Linked DNA regions of Homo sapiens: regions 2 and 3 are each linked to region 1. Evidence: promoter capture Hi-C in 16 types of primary human blood cells and fetal thymus (Javierre and others, 2016). All regions are on one chromosome and are shown on one strand. Each heading gives the region's core, a stretch centred on a gene start or on the middle of the fragment in contact. The rest is flanking DNA. Distances are from core to core; before and after follow the strand shown. Region 1 holds the start of RTL5 (retrotransposon Gag like 5). Region 2 overlaps NHSL2 (NHS like 2). Region 3 overlaps NHSL2 (NHS like 2).

Evidence for each region. Contacts are between HindIII fragments. The CHiCAGO score rates a contact against its expected background, and 5 or more counts as called.
Region 2: a contact is called between a fragment that was not itself captured here and the fragment with the promoter of RTL5 in region 1, in 8 of 17 cell types (neutrophils, monocytes, naive B cells and 5 more). The highest score is 8.0, in neutrophils.
Region 3: a contact is called between a fragment that was not itself captured here and the fragment with the promoter of RTL5 in region 1, in 17 of 17 cell types (neutrophils, naive B cells, activated CD4 T cells and 14 more). The highest score is 34.5, in neutrophils.

What each region holds. Positions count from the first base shown.
Region 1 is chrX:72,130,647-72,134,327 of GRCh38, reverse strand. RTL5 (retrotransposon Gag like 5) reads left to right here and starts at 2,413. Exons shown (of 1, transcript NM_001405151.1): 1 at 2,413-3,681. The coding sequence starts at 2,788. It overlaps NHSL2 (NHS like 2), which reads right to left. Exons shown (of 8, transcript NM_001013627.3): 2 at 2,094-2,249; 3 at 110-237. RefSeq lists silencers at 2,333-2,392, 2,553-2,622. The HindIII fragment of the contact is 11,603 bases long and covers 1-3,681 here.
Region 2 is chrX:71,980,657-71,984,519 of GRCh38, reverse strand. The region is part of intron 1 of NHSL2 (NHS like 2); the gene reads right to left. Among named protein-coding and RNA genes, the nearest start is that of NHSL2, 72 kb to the right of the region's middle. The HindIII fragment of the contact is 1,696 bases long and covers 806-2,501 here.
Region 3 is chrX:71,997,140-72,001,002 of GRCh38, reverse strand. The region is part of intron 1 of NHSL2 (NHS like 2); the gene reads right to left. Among named protein-coding and RNA genes, the nearest start is that of NHSL2, 88 kb to the right of the region's middle. RefSeq lists an enhancer at 3,631-3,863. The HindIII fragment of the contact is 6,669 bases long and covers 1-3,863 here.

The DNA of each region.
Region 1 (3,681 bases), core at 1,164-3,663:
CTGCTGGTGAGCAGGGCTGAGCAGCTTCCAGTGGGTAAAGTAAGCAGCTGGAGGTCTCTTGTCAGTGGGTGCATGCTGGCTCTCCCAGGTGGGGGATGAGGCAACTCACCATCAATATAAACTCCAGACGCCTGGCAGACTGGGGCCTTGGGTTGGGGGTGGGCTTAGTGGCCTCATCAGAAGAGCGGAAGGTCTGCCCCACAAGTCTGGCCTCCGAGTACTGTTCCTCATATTCTTCTGAAAAATAGCACAGTGGAGACACACACTCTAGGGTGCCATGGCCGAGCGCTGGGCCGGGGAAGGGCCATGAGCCAGGACTCCTGCTCTAGCTGCCAGGCCTGACTTGCATTTTCTTTAGGCTATTTCCAGGTGTTTGAGCCACTGGATTTGGAAATGGAAAAGTGCTTGCTTCCCAGGACCATGAGGATCGAGGAGAAGAGAAAGTCAATAAATTCATGCTGTGGTGGTTTGGGGACCAAGCCCTTATCTCAATGATCCCCACCTTGAGTGCTCAGTTACGAAAAGAGGCTCAGAATGCAGACACCTTTTGCTACTTTGGACTGCAAGTTCCTCTCTTTGAAGCCCTGCAGCTCTTAAGGTTTTCTGCGACCCTACCAAGGAAATGACCTGTGTGAAGCAAGAAGAGATTTACACCAGGAAGTCCAATCTGGAGTTCTTTCTTGGATGTCAAGAACTTTTACTTGAGCCTTTGTGGGCCGTGTTCCCTGCACCTTAGTCCCGCTGTAAGTGATGTCAGGTCTAGGAGGGCTAAGGTGAAGGAGAGGGAAGGAGGAGGTAACAGCATAAAAGAGGCAGAAGTTCAGCGGCATCATCAGTGAGTAAGGATGCACAAGATTTGAATAGGGTTGATTGAAGTGATGAATTTGATGAGAATACATGAAGAAAGTGAGAGTAGAGAAGGGACATTCATGCTGTATGTACACTGAACAAAGACTCAGAATCACAGAGATTTGGGGTTGCTCTTGGGGTTCTTTGGTCCAACGCCTCATTCTGTGCCCAGACTCCCTCCTCAGCAGCCCTTCTAGGTGTTTCTTCAGCCTCAGCGCACACACCTGCAGGGAAGGGGAGCTCCCTCCCTCCCAAGGCAGCTCATTTCTTCCACGGACAGTTGGGGCTGTCAGGTGTGTCAGAAAGTTCTTCCTTATCTGGAGGTGGAATGTGCCTCCTTCTGGGTTTCCACCCACTGGTCCTAATTCTGCCATGGTAGCAACACAGAGCACATCGACTCTTTTTCTGTGTGGCAAGTCCTTTGTTATCTGAACACAAGGCTCATGGTGTCCCTTGGCATCTTGCTTTTCCAAGGTCACCACTGCCCTGGTAGGGGGTGGGGGTTATGGCTGTCATCCTGTTGGTGGCCCATCAGCAGTTTTCTATTCGCCATTAGAGTTAACCTTTATTAGTATAGATAAAGGAGTGCTGACAAGACCTCTTTTCATGCTCAACATCCACTGAGCACCTCTTGGCAGGTGGGGAGGGAATCCAGCCTTGTGCCAGGTGCTTCTGGAAACCTAAGGGTAGCAAGATGTGATTCTTTACATCGAGAAGCTCAGGCTTGGTTAGGGGGGACAAAATAGGTGACCTCTGGGTGCTGTGTATTGGGCTTACTTTGGTGAGGCAGTAGCTATCCAGGGGTTATTGCAAGAGCAGAGTGAGTGAAGCCCAGAGTGGGAGATCCTGCAGATGCCCCCTTTGTCTTCTGGTGCCAGGATCCCAAAGGCATGGGCGATGTGGCAAGAGGGGGGCTGGAGGGAATGTAGGCCCACATTGTGGGAGTCTCCCACCCAGCTCTCGGTGAATGGCATAACTTATGGCCCTGCCTCAGTCTCTGTCCTTGTTTCCCCATGGGCTACTGAGCTGAAAAAAGGGGCTGGGGATGGGGGGAAACAGCCCTGGAAATAGCCTCTTTCAGAATCATTAGGCTGAAAGGTGAAAGCTGGAAACTGCTTTGTCGATTGTTTTTAAACTCTCTGTCTTTATCTTGCTGGTCCCTGTCCTCTTTCTTCTTTGCCTCCCTCCTGCCGCTGCGCATCTCGCTTCTGGGCTCCGGCCGCAGCCCCCCTCCCTCTCGGTACCTTGCAACAGGCTCTGGAGATTGAGCTGCGCCTCCCGAAGCAGCTCCTCTACACTCGGGGGCCTGCCCGAGGAGAGGAACACGTTCACTGGCTGTCGCCATGACGACCTCGAGTGGGCAGTCGCTGTCGCATTTTCCCGACCCGAGTTAGCTGCAGCTAGGGAAGGAGAGAGTCAGTGAGAGGCGCAGGCGAGCTGGAGGGGAGCGGCGCGCGGCGGCCAGTGGGCGCCCGCGGTTCCCCAAGGCCCGCCCCTGCGTGGGGTGGGGGGAGTGCGAGGCTGCGCTTAAAAGGCGGGGAATCGCCGGCCGCAAGATTTTTCCTCGACAGATCCTGCCGCAGTCCGCTCCCTCCCGCTCCGCTCGCCCCTGCCCGCCCGCCCGCCCGGTCGCGCGGTCGCCGCCGCCACCGTGTCGCCCGCATCCTCCGCCTGGCGCCTCCGGGCCCCGTGCCTCCGCCCGCCCTCTCCGGCCCCGGCGACGAGGTAACGCGCCCTGGGCCGAGCCGCCGGGCCCTCCGCCCAGAGCGCCGCCCTCCGAGCTCGCCCCGGTGGGTGTGGCCCGGCCTGGCCCGTGCCCCGCTGCCGCACTTCGGTCCCTCCCGAGCCCCGCCGCCGCATTTCGGCCTCCTCCGGCCGCCCGTAGTTCCAGTTCCCCTTTCCCCACCACGGAGCCCCAGGGCCCCTGGGCTTGTCGAGATGTCTGAGGCGTCAGGAAATCTCAACAGCCTCCGCATGGCGAATGTGGCCCTGCGCGAAGAATTAAATGCCCTTCGCGGGGAGAATGCCAATTTGGGCCTCCAGCTCGGGAGAGCCCTGGCCGAGGTTAATTCCTTGCGGGGCAATGTCTCCAGCTACATCCGCTGGCCAGTACCCATAGTGCCCGTCCTTGCGGAGGAGAACTTGGAGTTCGCGCTCAGTGAGATCGAAGTCATTCCCGGGGGAGAACTGCCCTTCTTGTGCCGGCCTCCCCCACGCGCGGAGCCCGACTGTATCTCGGATGATCTTTTGATTAACGTGATCCAGGATCGCAGCACCCCCGACGGGCCCGCTGACCCCCCTCTGCTGCCCATCCCGCCCCCGCCGGCGCTGCCTCCGCCCGCGTCAAAGGAACCGCCCCCGCAACCCCCTCTGGCACCGCTGGAGCGGCCTGAGATAGAGCCCTTTTCAGGAGACCCAGTCTACCTGGCTGAATTCCTGATGCAGCTAGAGACCTTCATAGCCGACCATGAGGTTCATTTCCCCGGGGGCGCCGAGCGGGTGGCCTTTCTGATCTCCTTTTTCACTGGCGAAGCCAAGGACTGGGCCATCTCGGTCACCCAGGAAGGAAGCCCCTTGCATGCCAACTTCCCGCGCTTCCTGGATGAAATCCGTAAGGAATTCTGTGGCCCCATCCCCCCACGTGTGGCTAAAAAGGCCATTCGCAAGCTCAAGCAGGGCCACTGTACCCTCGGCAGCTATGCAGATGCTTTTCAGTTCCTGGCCCAATTCTTGTCTTGGGATGACTGCCGCCTCCAAAACCAATTCCTCAAAGGCCTGTCGGAATTCTTCCGCAAAGAGCTCTTATGGTCAACAGAAATGGCCGACCTGGAT
Region 2 (3,863 bases), core at 404-2,903, 150 kb after region 1:
GGGATGGGTAATGTAAAAATCTGGATCAGTATTCCAATTCTGGGCACATATTGAAATTGGCTAGCAACCCCATATTAGCTTGGTTCCAACAAATGCCTAGTTCATGGAAAGCTTTCTAATTTAGTTTACTAGGGACAATTTTACTTATTTTGCTTTACTATTGTGGAATATATTGCTGTTGTACTCTTTGTGTAGGAATGCAGGATAAGCTTACCGAATGTTTTCTTACATTGAATACTTATTAATCTTCAAGATATCACCTTTTGTCAGAACTCAGAATTGTGAATGGCCCATGACATACCAATGCTTTCTGACTGAGCTCCTCTCTACCCTGATTGCAAGAGATCTAATAGTTAGACAGGAATATCATCACCGCTATTCATTAGAAGATGGATCTTTGTCCCTCTGCAACCCTTAGGATTAAGGGTTCTCTTATAAAAGTGAGGGGGGAAATGTCAGAGGTGTTTGAACCACAGCAACTCCATCTTGAATAGGGGCTGGGTAAAATAAGGATGAGACCTGCTGGGCTGCGGTCCCAGTAAGTTAGGCCTTCTTAGTCACAGCATGAGATAGGGGGTCGGCACAAGATACAGGTCATAAAGCCCTTGCTGATAAAACAGGCTGTAGTAAAGAAGCTGGCTAAAACCCACCAAAACCAAGATGGCGATGAGAGTGACCTCCGGTCATCCTCACTGCTACATTCCCACCAGCACCATGACAGTTTACAAATGCCATGGCAACATCAGGAAGTTACCCTATAAGGTCTAAAAAGGGGAGGCATGAATAATCCACCCCTTGTTAAGCTTATCATCAAGAAATAACCATAACTTTTTCAAGTCCACTGTGGTGGCTCTGGGTAGTTCCTTTCTCATTCCTTTTTTTTCCTTTAACAGTTTTATTTTTTTTTTAGAGACAGGGTCTCACTCTGTTGCCTAGGCTACAGAACAGTGGCGTGATCATGGCTCACTGCACCCTCAAGCTCCTGGGCTAGAGTAATCTCCACACCTCAGCCTCCAGAGTAGCTGGAACTTCAGGTGTGTGCCACCAGGCTTGGCTAATTTTAATTTTTTTTTTTTTTGTAGAGGTGGGGTCTCACTATGTTGCCCAGGCTGGTCTTGAAGTCCTGGGCTCAAGCAATCCTCCCACTTCGGCCTCCCAAAGTGCTGGGATTACCAGCGTGAGACATAGCACCAAGCAAAATTTATACTGAGATATAATTCGCGTAGCATATAATTCAATCAATTAAAGCAGACAATTCAATGGCTTTTTAGTATATTCACAGAGTTGTATACCCATCATCATAGTGAATTTTAGATCATTTCCCGGTGATAGTGGAAAAACAAACTGTTTTTCCTCTGTTCTCACACCACAACAACAATCAACACAGAAAATTCTGTAACCAAATGTGTGGGATTTTCTCTCCCCATTCGCCAAATAAGCAATCAATTCTACAGTAGACACAGATGTCTTCCAGTTCAATTCTGATACTATCTACCTGAAGATAGCATCATATCCCACAGGTTGAAGGCTCAGTCCCCAAGACTGCGTCCCCCCTTCTTCACACACCAGTTGCAAGTTCTAGCCTCTGGAACTTCTGGACAACCAGCTTCAAATTGGAGTTCCCATTACCCCCTCTTTTCTTCTATTAATTTGCTAAAGCAGCTCACAGAACTCAGGGAAGCACTTACTGACATTTACTGGTCTATAATAAAGGACATAAAAAATGATACAGATGAAGAGATGCATCAAGCAAGGAAGGTATGTGGGAAGGGGCACAGAACTTCCATGTTCTACTTGGGTAGGCCACCCTCCATGAATCTTCACGTGTTCAGCTATCCAGAAGCTCACTGGACCCTGTTCTTTTGAGTTTTTGTGGAGGCTTCATTATGTAAGCATGATTGTTTAAATGATTGGCCATTGGTGATCAACTTCACCTTCAGCCCCTCTCCCGTCCCTGGAGGTTGGGCTGAAAGTCCCAACCCTCTATTCATGCCTTGGTCTTTCCAGTGACCAGTCCCTATTCTTGGGCTACCCAACCATCAGTCAACTCATAGGCATACAAAAAGACATCACTTTGGAGACTCCAAGGATTTTCGGAGTTGTATGCCAGGAAATGGAGACAAAGACCAAATATATATTTCATAACATCACACCCCCCAAAAGAAACCCTAACTTATTAGCTCTCTATTATCCTCCCCACTCCAGCCCCTGGCAACAACTAGTCTATTTTCTGTCTTTATGGATTTGCCTAATCTGGGCATTTTATAGAAATGGAATCATACAGTATATGGGCTTTGTGTCTGGCTTCTTTTGCTTAGCCTAGTGTTTTCAAGGTTCATCCATGTTGTAGCATATATCAGTACTTCATTCATTTTTATGACTGGTTCCATCATATGAATATACCACAACTGTTTATCCACTCACACATTGAAGGACATTTGGGTTGTTTCCATCTTTTGGCTATTACAAATAATGCTCCTATGAACATTTATGTACAAGCTTTTTTTTATGGGGACATATGCTTTTATTTCTCTTGAGTATGTACCTAAGAGTGGAATTACTGGGTCATACGGTAACCTGGGTCATATGTTTAACCTTTTGTGTAACTGCTGTACTGTTTTCCATAGAGGCTGCACCATTTTATGTTCCTACCAGTGGTATTTGAGATTTCCAGTCACTCCACATCCTTGTCAACACTTATTATTTGTATGTTTGATTACAACAAATCTATTGGGTGGGAAGTGGGATCTCATGTGGTTTGATTTAAATTTCCCTCATGGATAATGATGTTGAACATCTTTTCATGTACTTGTTGGCCATTTGTATATCTTCTTTGGAGAACTGTCTATTCAGATCTTTGTTCATTTTTAAATTGAGTTGTTTGTCTTTTTATTGTTGAGTTTTAAGAGTTCTTTATATATTCTGGATACAAGTTCTTTACTAGATATATGATTTGCAAACCTTCTTTTTTTTTTTTTTTTTTGAGACAGAGTCTTGCTCTGTTGCCCAGGTTGGAGTGCAGTGGCACGATCTCTGCTCACTGCAACCTGGGTTCAAACAATTCTTGTGCCTCAGCCTCCTGAGTAGCTGGGACTACAGGTGTGTGCCAACACACTCAGCTAATTTTCGTATTTTAAAAAGAGATGGGGTTTCGCCATGTTTGCCATGTTGGTCTTGAACTCCTGACCTCAAGTGATCCACCCGCCTTGGCCCAAAGTGCTGGGATTACTGGCGTGAGCCACTGTACCTGGCCATAAGATTTACAAAACTTTTGTCCATTCTTTGGGCTGTCTTTTCCCTTTCTTGGTAACCTCTGAAGCACAAAGTTTTTTACTTTTCATAAAGTTCAATTTACCTAGTTTTTCTTTTGTCTTTTGTGCCTTTGGTGTTATATCTAAGAAACCATTGCCTGATTCAAGGTTACAAAGATATACAACTACACTGTCTTCTAACGGTTTTACAGCTTGAGCTCTTACAGTTATGTCGTTGATCCACTTTGAGCTAACTTTTGTACATGATATAAGGTTAGGAGTCCAAATTATTCATTTTTGCATGTAGATTCTCCTTTTTAATTTCAAGGGGCAACACCCTAGTTGAGAATTGGGTCTAGGGAAAATAATAATTACAAAAATCATTGATTAGGTCTCTATCAGGCACTCACATATGCTACCTCTTATTTTTGCAGTAACTCTTCACGGTATATCTTTCTACTATCCTCCTTTTATAGCTGATCAAAGTAAGACAGATTAACTTGTCCCACATTGCCCAACTGACAAGAAGCAGAGCTAGGATTTGCATCAGGCCCATCTGTCTCCAAAGCCCAGACTCACAGTGCTGCACTGGATTGCAAGTAGGCTTCATTC
Region 3 (3,863 bases), core at 608-3,107, 130 kb after region 1:
CTAAAATGACAGGTGAGGCAGGAGAAGGTCATGGAAAAAGCACAAGGGTGATAGACAGGATTATAGCCCCCACAACGATGTCCACATCCTAACCTCTGGAACCTGTGAATGTGTTCAGTTACATAACAAGGGGAACTAAGGTTTGCAGGTGGAGTTAAAGTTACTTATCAGCTGACATTGACTGAAATGGGGAGAAGCTGCCCATCTCATCTGGGTGGGCTCAATGTAATCATGAGGGTTTTTATAAAGTGAAAGCGGGAGGCTGGAGAGTCAGAGTCAGAGAAGGAGATGTATAGAAGCAGAATCAGGGTGATGGGATGTGAGAAAGACTCGAATGGCCACTTTTGGTTTTGAAGTCAAGGAATGCAGGCAGCCACTACACGCTGGAAAAGGCAAGGAAAAGGATTGTCCCGTAGAGTCCTAAGAAGGAATGCAGCCCTGCTAGCATCTTGATTTTAGTCCAGTGAGACCAATCTCAGACGTCTGCCCTCCAGAACTGTAAGATAATAAATTTGTGTTGTTTTAAGCCACTGAATTTGCGGTAATGTGTTACAGCAGCAATATGATACTAATACAATTGGCTTTGGACTCAGATGAATGTAGTTTAATGCTGGCTCACTGTATACCAATACTTGACCTTAGTCTAGTCATTTAACCTCTCTTAGCCTTAATATCCTTATCTGTAAAATGGAGACCACAATACCCTCACTTCATAGAGTTGAGGTAAAGAGCACCTGTAATGATGAACACAAAGGGATAGTACAGCCTCGCACAGAGAAGGTGCTGGGCAATGTTCTTTTCTTTCCTTCAATGTGTTTGATGAGATCATAATTCATATGTAGGACCGGTGGTGTTCTGGTAAGTGTTCAGCAACCAGCTCTCAAAAAAAATGCACAAACGTATATATAAATATACACATACATACATAGGTTTATTATAAATTTACTTATATAAGAATGTGAAGTGCTCAATTTACAGATAATACTGAAATATATAATACTCTTTATTATAAATTCCATATAACCAATGGATTCTCCCATAATGCTTTCATTGATTTTTGCTGAACACATATCAATAGCCAAACTTCGGCCATAACAGAAGAGCAAGTGCAGTTCCTAAATGAATGATGGTTGATATTTTCATTTATGTTAATGAGTAAGAAGAAAGTGAAACAACCAAGAAGTATTGGAACTTGACAATTTTTTTTTAAATGTTGAAATAATTTTAGACTTATAGAAGAGTTGTAAAAACAGTACAGAGAGTTTCTGTGTACCCTTTACCCAGCTTCCCCTTATGTTGACATCTTACATAATTATAAAACATTGATCAAAACTGAGAAATTAAACTTAGTACAACATTAACTAAAGTACAAACTTATTTGGAGTTCACCAGCTTTTCTACTGAAGTCTTTCTTCCATTCTAGGATCCAATCCAGGACCCATATTGTATTTAGTTGGTCATTTATTTTGTAGAATGTCTCTCAATTTCAGTTTGTCTTCTGTTTTCTCATATAATTTAATTTTTAATGATGGCTGTATTTAACAACTGGCTCATACGTTTCCTAAATATTTAACAATTGATTCTCGCAAACCACTACAAGCCAGCCCCAGCACACCACTCTAAGCAAAATTGACAAACAATTCATTCACGGTTTTTTCCCCATTAATTTCACAAATATTTATTGAGCGCCCTCTAGGGGCTAGTGCTGGGGATATAGAGATGACCAAAACACAGTCCTTGCCTGAGAAAATCAGAGATTAGGGGAGGTGACAGGACAGTAGCAGACAGTGCCTGTAGAGCGATGGATACGATAGAGGGTAATAGAATGTGGTGGAGCATTCAGAGGTGGGAGGGCCAAATTCTGGCTGAGGAAGTCAAGGGGAACATCAAGGATGAACAAGAGCTCCCCAGGTCAGACACAAGGAGGTTGAGGGAGGCTTCTCATGTAAGATGATGTGTGAGCTGAGTCTTGATGCATGAGTGGGAATGAGCCAGTCAGCTGAGGAAGCAGAAGGAACAACAGTCACTCATTTATTCCTTCATTTATTAAGCACCTATTAGGTATCCATTCCATACTATGCTCTGGAGATGCTCAAACAGGTAATGAATAAGGGCCCTCCAGTGTGACTGGTGATGGTGTCTGAGCTATCTTGAAAGATGAGGCAGTGTTTGCATGTGTGAAGGTGGTGTCATGAATGAGCATGGGGCATGAGGGCATTGAGTATAGATCAGCAGTGGAGAGGACCCCACGGCCAGACACCTCCTCCCTGAGAGTGCAGAAAGATGAAGGGGGAGCTGAAAGGCCACTGACCATCGTTTAACCTAGAGCAACCAATAGGTTTTGCCAGAGGACAACTAATGCCAGAACCTTCCTATGCAGGCGCCACATGTTCATAGCCCCCTTCTCTCCAGCCCTTCACACTAAACCTCCACGTAAAGATCCCCAGAACTACACTGAGCAGCTTACCCCTGCCTTAGGCAGAAGGATGAGGTGGTGATGATATGGTGTCACAGGCCAACTCTCAACAGAGGTCCTTGACCTGAGACCAAGACGCCCCAGAAAAGTGCCAGTGTTCCTACCTCAGATGCCTTCTCTGACCATAAACTAAAGCAACCCCAACACATACACAACCCCAGCCATTCTCTATCCCATTATACTACTTGATTTTCTTCATAACACTTATTGCTATCTGAATAAGTGCTAATAAGTGCTTTTTAGATCTTTACTTGTTTTTGCTAGTCTCCTTCCATTACAAGTTAAGCTCCTCAAATGTAGAAACCCTTGTCTATCTTGTCTTCAATACATCCCCAGCTCTCAGCTCAGGGCCTGGCCCTTAGGAGTATTTGTGAAATATTTGTAGAATAGATGACTGAATGAATGGATGAACGAATGCTTTTACTAATATTTGACAGCTGTACTCCTAATCCTCTGTGGCCCAAACTTTTGCCCTCCATTTTAAGTCTGTTGCATATTCCTTCAGTACCTTGACTTAGAACTTGAACCTTACAAGGAGGAGCAACACTAACATGCATGAAATTCAGAATGCTCCTGTTGGAACTATTGTGAGAATGCAAAAGATAACAACAAAAACTAACACTTGTTGTGCTAAGTGCCAGCTCCCATCCTAAGCCCTTTATATATATTTAATAAATATCTGTTGAGTACCTGCCAGGTGCCAGGGATTGTTTAGGCCCTAGGGACATGGCAATGAATAAAAGACAAAAATCTCTGCTTTTAGGGAGCCTAAACATTAGCCAACTTAATCTGAAAACAGCCTTAAGATGTAGATCCTGTGATTATTCCCATTTTAAAGATGAGGAACCTGAGGCACAGAGGCTAAGTAACTTACCCAAGATCGCACAGCAGTGGAATGGCAGAGCCAGGCAGTATGGGCCCTGAGCCTGTGTTCCTAACCAGTAGGCTATTCTGCCTCCTGGAGAGCTATGGGAAAGTGCTTGGCAAACTTTCAAAGACTTCGATAAATTTGAATTCCTATCATTCTTGGTAGAAGCACATTGTGTTATGGGGGCAGTAAAGAGACTGGGCCAGGGAGTTCAGAGGACGTGTGGAGGGCAGTGGTCCTGGAGGTGGCCTTTGGCACATCTTGGGCCAGGAGAGCACTAGCTGTGCTGTGACTCCCCAGCCCCTTGCTGGAGACTGTCAGACTTAGCAGATCCACATAGAGTAAGGCTGCACGAGGGAGGCTGTAAGGCCTCCCCACTGGCACGTTCTTAGCTCTTTGTGGGTTTTTCTTCCCCCATTGTTGTCGTAGAGTCCTGTCCTGATCCCCCTTCTACCGATTTGTTGCCCTTGTAGTGGCCCTGCCCCACCCACCTTGCCACAGTCCTCCCATTCAGCCTCC